Regions from separate parts of the Homo sapiens genome. Here region 1 is linked to region 2. Evidence: promoter capture Hi-C in 16 types of primary human blood cells and fetal thymus (Javierre and others, 2016). All regions are on one chromosome and are shown on one strand. Each heading gives the region's core, a stretch centred on a gene start or on the middle of the fragment in contact. The rest is flanking DNA. Distances are from core to core; before and after follow the strand shown.

The links. Contacts are between HindIII fragments. The CHiCAGO score rates a contact against its expected background, and 5 or more counts as called.
Region 1: a contact is called between a fragment that was not itself captured here and the fragment with the promoter of CFAP54 in region 2, in 5 of 17 cell types (total CD8 T cells, non-activated CD4 T cells, activated CD4 T cells and 2 more). The highest score is 6.7, in total CD8 T cells.

The regions. Positions count from the first base shown.
Region 1 is chr12:96,199,530-96,203,206 of GRCh38, forward strand. All of the region lies in intron 1 of ELK3 (ETS transcription factor ELK3), which reads left to right. Among named protein-coding and RNA genes, the nearest start is that of ELK3, 7.0 kb to the left of the region's middle. The HindIII fragment of the contact is 1,794 bases long and covers 1,198-2,991 here.
Region 2 is chr12:96,487,347-96,491,142 of GRCh38, forward strand. CFAP54 (cilia and flagella associated protein 54) reads left to right here and starts at 2,231. Exons shown (of 68, transcript NM_001306084.2): 1 at 2,231-2,580. The coding sequence starts at 2,264. RefSeq lists a silencer at 2,085-2,379 and an enhancer at 2,270-2,479. The HindIII fragment of the contact is 3,410 bases long and covers 1,676-3,796 here.

The sequences.
Region 1 (3,677 bases), core at 845-3,344, 290 kb before region 2:
CTAAATGTCTTCAAAAATGGTAGATTACTCAGTCTTTTAAATAACTATTCTGTGCAGAAATTCAACTCCCCATGGTTCCTGCCTGAAACCAAAATAAAAATTGCCTTTCATCCATTACTGGAGATTTACATATATGTCAGCAGTTTTAAAGTAAACTTTGAACTAGTCATTTCAATAAATTGTGATTTGGTTTGAATTCCCACTAGGAATAAAGTCATTGACTACTTTATTGCTATGTATTAATTTACATTTCCTGGAAAGTACTACTTTTTTCTAAGAATTAAATAAGATTATAACATGGCTTTACTTGTATATTTTTAAAGAAATTTAGACAATGTTATATTAGTGTATTCTAATTTGAATTAGACTGAAATGAATTTACTCACACACTCTAAAACAAGGATCTATTTATGACACATAGTGTCATAAATATGCTTAAAGTTTCTATAGCTAAGAACAATTTCTGAATATCCATGTGTAATATGGGAGTGATGGGATAGGTATAAAACACTTATCTAGATACCTTCTCTTTTTATTTTTTAAATTGATATAAATGTACATATTTATGGGGTACATAGTGATTTTTTACATATATATCATGTATAGTAATTAGATCGAGGTAATTAGATCCATCATCTCAAATGTTTATGATTTATTTGTGTTGGGAACATCCATTATCTTCCTTCTAGTTAATTGAAACTATATAGTATTATAGGCATCCTGCAGTGCTATAGAACACGAGAACTTACTCCTCCTGTTGGAGACCTTCTCTTAAGACTGATGAAGCTAGGGCTCCTGTACTCCAAGCAATAGAGTAAAGAAAACGAGGCTCTTGGTATCTTCCCCTCTCTCTTTTTTTTAAGTTGAGGTATGATTTACATATATTAAAATGCGCAGATCTTAAGTGTTATTGTATACATACATGTAACCCTACCCAAAGAGACAATATTTCCATGTCCCCAAGTGTTTTTTGGCTTATGTATTTAGAGACAGAGCCTGGTTCTGTCACCCAGGCTGGAGTGCACTGGCACTGTCATAGCTCAGTGCAGCCTCAAACTCCAGGGCTCAGGTGATCCTCCTGCCTCAGTCTCCCAAGCAGATAGGACTGCAGGTGTGCACCACCACACCTGGCTAATTTTTTTTTTCTTTTTGAGACAGTGTCTGGCTCTGTTGCCCAGGCTGGAGTGCAGTGGTGCAAGCTTGGCGCACTGCAACCTCCGCCTCCTGTGTCTAAGCAATTCTCATGCCTCAGCCTCCCAAGTAGCTGGTATCATAGGCATATGCCACCATGCCTGGCTAATTTTTGTATTTTTAATAGAGACGGGCTTTTGCCATATTGGCCAGGCTGGTCTCAAACTCCTGGCCTCAAGAGATCTGCCTGTCTCCACCTCCAAAGGGCTGGGATTAACAGGAGTGAGCCACCATGCCTGGCCTCTGGCTAATTTTTTTATTTTTTGTAGAAATGGGGTCTCATTATCCCTGGCCATTTACAAAATTCTGTTACGGCAATTTCATGATTCTACCATATAGATTCTTAAACTTCAGAATACCTTGATAAAATATTGTGGTATTTTATTTAATCTGCTTAGTTAAAAATAAATCAGAATGTGTAGATTTCCTCATCATACAGTAAGAGGAAAAAGAAAAATCCTTTCTGTATTACCTGATATCCGCAAAATATTTAACCAAAAGTAATATGTGTGCTTTAGGAAAAATGTATTACCTGAAGACTAATTGGGATGAGAGGATATTAGTAAATCTTCCCAGACCTCAGTTTCTTTAGCCTGATGGTAAAGTAGTTGAAGTGGAGGCTGGGTGCAGTGGCTCACATGTGTCATCCCAGCATTTTGGGAGGCTGAAGCAGGCAGATCACTTGAGCCCAGGAGTCTGAGATCAACCTGGGCAACATAGTGAGACCCCATCTCTGCCAAAAATTAGCTAGACGTGGTGGTGCGTGCCAGTAGTCCCAGCTACCCGGGAGGTCAAGGCTGCAGTGAACCATGATTGCGCCACTACACTCCAGCCTGGGTAACAGAGTGAAACCCTGTCTCAAAAAAAAAAAAAAAAAAAAAAGGGATTGAAGTGGAGAAGCTGAGATATACTCCCTTTCAAGTCGGAAGCCCTATTTGTGTACTGCTATATTTGGAGGAAAGGTCTTGACTCCTAAGAGTTGTGAAAGTGTGATATGAACTTCTTGCTGTCATCTCCAGACATCTGACTTATAGACATATGCAGGAATTTAAACAAACAGCTATTTTGTGGTGGAAAAGGGGGATCTCCATAAGTTTCCCCTTGAATTCCATTTTGGCCCCTTATTGAATAAGGAACACTCCAGTGGAAGGCCAGTATTAGCTGCCATGCTTCCTTTCCTCCTAGTCTTTTGAGGTTTGTGACAGGCAGCACTGATTTCTAATGACCCACAGCCACCTCATTCTTGGGGACATCAGTGACTGTCTGAGTTGGTGCTCTGTAGCACCAGATAAGAGTTTGGTCACCTGGTGAAATTCCTCCTCCTTCCTTCTGATAGTCTTTGAAAGTGCTGTCTGCCCCCACTGCTGTATCTTGAGGGTTCTTACATTCCTCTGCACCCGCTCTGATCCCTTCTCTCCCCAGGAGCTAGAACAATCCTTTCAAAACACAGATCTGACCAGGTCATTCTTCTACTGAAAAATCTTCTAGTGACTTCAGCTTAGGATAAAGACCAAAACCCCTAACTCAAGCTGCAAGATGTGATTTGGGCCAGCAAACTGACTTTTCCTCAGTTCCTCAAATGCTTAAGGTGTCCTCTGCCCTCTGTCCACTGGGTCTTTGTCAATACTGACAGAATTTTCCCCCCGACCCCTCTATTTTTCAGACTCCATGCCTAACCAATTTGTAGGCGTCTTTTAGTTCACACTCAGCTCCACCATGTTTTATTGGGGAAGCCTTTCCTGTCACCTAGAGTAGATCTCCCTCAGTCATCTGCTCCTGGCCTTCAGAGCCCTTACCACAAGCTTTTTTTTTTTTTTTTTTTGAGAGATGGAGTCTTAGCCTGTTGCCCAGGCTGGAGTGCAGTGGCACCATCTTGGGTCACTGCAACCTCCACCATGTGGGTTCAAGAGATTCTACTGCCTCAACCTCCCAAGTAGCTGGAATTACAGGCTTGTGCCACCACACCTTGCTAATTTTTGTGTTTTTATTAGAGACAGGGTTTCGCCATGTTGGCCAGGCTGATCTCAAACTCCTGGCCTCAACTGATCCGCCTGCCTCGGCCTCCCAAAGTGCTGGGATTACAAGTGTGAGCCACCATGCCTGGCCACCACAGGCTTTATTTACAGGTTGCCTCATTACCTGAATTCTCTCTCTCCAAATTCTTGTTACCCAAACACAGGAACATGAGATGGAGTCTCGCTCCGTCGCCCAGTCTGGAGTGCAGTGATCTCAGCTCACTGCAACCTCTGCCTCCTGGGTTCAAGTGATTCTTCTGCCTCAGCCTCCCAAGTAGCTGGGACTACAGGCATGCGCCACCCCACCTGGCTAATTTTTGTATTTTTAGTAGAGACGGGGTTTCACCATGCTGGCCAGGCTGGTCTCGAACTCCTGACCTCGTGATCCACCCGCCTCAGCTTCCCAAAGTGCTGGGATTACAGGCATGAGCCACCATACCTGGCCAGGAACTAGACAGTTTTAGAGACATC
Region 2 (3,796 bases), core at 981-3,480:
TTCCAAAAACTACTGCAAGTTAAGCATTGTTAGCTTTAGTGTGTGCAAGGGGGAAAGTGACTAAGATGCAATGTTTCATAATTCAGGTATTTGAATTTGCTTAGTCACATTTTCTTTTACCAGTGACTTTGAAATACAAGTGTCTGCCCTATGATAAAGTTTGTTTGTGACAGTAGCCAGATTAGAAGGAAAAACACCACTTTGTCTTTTATTTTTTTCTTTCCTTTTCTGTGACCACTTTAATTAATTTTATCCTGCTGTTTCACTTTCATCAATATAATAGATAGCACTCAGTGGCAAATTACACCAGTTTTTGATCTGCAATGGACAAGTCTGCCATGTTAGAGCAAGAAAAAGATGAGAAAAAAGAGAATTTACCAAGCCGACTTTTAAAAATGTCTATTAATATTTTTGTAAATGCCCAGTGATTATTTCTCTAGGACTACATTCTTTAAAGCCTTACAATTTTTGTTGTTCACTTAGAGAACAAGATAAAATCTTTGTTGATCAAAGGATGATATCTACATCCTGATTAGAGAATTGGACTCCTACAGTGAGGTGTCATTGCGTCTCACTGCTTGCCAGGAAGTTTCTCTGGCTATAATTAACTGTGCCGATGAGCAAAATTATTTTCCTTCAAAGAATATTAGGGTACAGTAGACATGACATATTAGGCCAGCCTCACAAATTAGCACAGGCCCACAGAGCCTGCATAAAATTAGGTCAGACTTGAAAGATATCAGGCTGTGGTCCAATAAGCTTCTTAGTCTGAAATGGAAAATTGGGTTCACAGGGTGTTAGGGTCACTGTCTTTATTTAAGTGTGATAGAACTGGTAACAATTTTCAGGGTTAAAGACTGATTTTTCTAAGCCACCAAATATTTCTGGTTCTTCTCTTAGATAATTTATTGTGTTGCATAATTTATAGAAAAGAAGGTTCTCCATTTTCTCAATACTCATACTTTAATAAATTTAACTCTGACTTTTGCCTATAATACACAGGCTAAGAATAAACTCCCCAAGTATTTCCCTGGAGGTCTGTAGTTTCCCCATCAGAAGTAAAGTCTCCTAAAAGCCCTGTTTAAAATGCAAAGTATTTTGAGAGTTAACACTTCAGGCCACTAGTATGTATTAATGTCCTATGGTTAAGGTTGAGCAAAATGCACATTAATTTAGAATACAGAGATAATTAAAGTAAGGCTGGAATGTGCATAAATAGATGTAATCATAATTATTAGAGGCATAGACATCATGTCCACAGTTACAGACCTCAAGGTACAAATAGAGGAAAGAGAATGGATCAGCTGCATATTCAGTACTCCCTGGCTATCTGTGGGGGACTAGTTCCATGACACCCGCAGATACCAAAATCTGTGGATGCTCAAGCCTCTGATATGAAATGCTGTAGTATTTGCATATAATTTGTGCACATCCTTCAGGATGTTTTAAATCATCTCTAGATAACTAGTAATACCTAATACAGTATAAATGCCATGTAAATAGTTGTATTTTGTGTTATTTTTATTGTTGTATTGTTATTTCTAATTTTGTTCTGAATATTTACAATCTGGAGTTGCTTGAATCCACAGATGAAGAACCCGAGATTTGGAGGGCCAACTGTATTTGATTCTTAAACTGCTTGTCAGATATTTCTCTAATTTCAATTTGATTAATAAGCTTTGTTTTGGGGAGTGATCAATACAGCCTATTCATTTTGAGCACAGGCTTTGGAGTCACAAGTTCCCTTTGGAGGACCTGGTCGCTGACACTACGGTTGTACGCTGACTTTTGTCAAATGACTTAACCTCCTTGAGCTTTGGTTTCCTAAACTGTGAGATGGATATACTAATAGTATCCTAAGTTGTAAAGTAGTTATGATGATTAAATGAGATAAATGAAAGTACATGTTTCAAATGCTTAATGCCTGACACACGTTAATGGTCATGGTCGTCATCATTATCGTTATTAAGTGGCCAACATGGATAAAGAGTATAGTCTGGATTTGTGACCTTAAATTTTTGGCTCTAATATTCGCCAGCGCTCTGCTCAGAACATTCTCTGTTCGCATTTCATACAGCGGTGCCAGCGCACAACCAGGCAACGCCCTCAGGAGCATCATTGTTTTCTGGACCTGGTTCTTTCTCGCTCTGCCCTCCAGGGGCCGCTGTGTTTCTCGGAATGCGCGCGGGATGCCCGGTTGCCACGAGACCGTCGCCAGGCAACCGCGTGTACACATACTCCAGGCGGGCCGGGGCGCGTCAATATGGCGGCGCAGGGCTCCCCCTCGAGCTCTCCGTCAGACGACTCTACCACCTCGGGGTCTCTGCCAGAACTGCCGCCGACCTCCACCGCGACTTCGAGGTCGCCCCCAGAGTCGAAGGGGAGCTCCCGGAGCTCGCTGCTTCAGTGGACCTGCCCCGAGGACTCATTGCCCCTAGCCGTGTTTTATGGGCCGCTGGACGCGAAAAACCCGCTCCTGGCCTCTTGTGAGAAGGAGATCCAGGAGTTGTTAGGCTTTATGAGGAAAAAGAAGGCTTTAGCCACCACGGAGGAAGAGAAGCACGAATTCCGCCGGCGTTGGTAAGCGCTGGCGGGGCACTGGGGAGGGCGCCGGCCAGAGGAGGGACCCCTGGAAAGGGCTGGAGGATGCAGGTGGTGGCCCCAGAGATGGTTCAGCGTTGCGGACGCAGGGGCTGGCTGAAGGGCCCAGGAGAGACAAAGTTTAAGAAGTGGAGACTCGTCGCTCTTAACAATCCTTAATTCCTGGGAGCTGTTATATCTTGGCTTCCTGCTCAGGTCAAAATAAAAATCTACACAGAAATGTTTCATAACTCACCATTTGTTATTTGACCAGAAAAGAAAGATGGTAACATAAGCAGGAAAGAACCTTAAAAAGAGTTCGCAGTTTGCAGTAATAACATGGTGATAGAACTCCCAAAAAGGCAAACAGTTGCGCAGAATGAATAGCAAAATTAAGAAAAAGTCACTGTAATCCTAATAGCAATATAAGAAGGAATTAAAGTGCACATGTTCACAGGATGACATACTTCATTGTATCAAGAGCTAGCTTCATGAACCTGAGCTACCTCGAAGTTATTCCTTTTTCTCCATATACAAATTTATATACTCATAACATGGAAAGTTGTGAAACCCTTGAGCGAGCCAAAAATTTATACATGAATACAAAATACGAAAATTAGCTGGGCATGGTGGCACATGCCTGTACTCCCAGCTACTCAGGAGGCTGAGGCAGGAGAATTGCTTGAACCCGGGAGGCAGAGGTTGCAGTGAGCTGGGATCGCGCCACTACACTCCAGCCTGGGCGACAGAGCAAGACTCCTTCTCAAAAAATAATAATAATAAATAAATAAAATAAAATATTTTTTATTTATGCATATAACAACTATTTATTGAGCACATACTGTATATCAAGTGCTGTTCAAGGAACTAGGAAAACATCAAGTTAACAAAACATATAAGAATCCATGTCCTTATAGAGCATATGTTTTTGTGGGTATAAACAACCACTAAACAAATATGTAAGTAAATAATCTTACAAGGAGATGACTGCTAGGGAGAAAAATAGAACAGGGAATGGTGTTGGAGGATATGAGATGAATGTTGCAATTTTATCTTTTTTTTTTGAGACAGGGTCTCACTCTTGCACAGGCTGTTGTGCAGTGGCTCAATCCTGGCTCACTGAAACCTTGAACTTGGGGGCTCAAGGGATCCTCCCACCTTGACCTCCCAAAGTATTGGATTACAGGCATGAGCTACTGCGCCTGGCCTGAGTGTT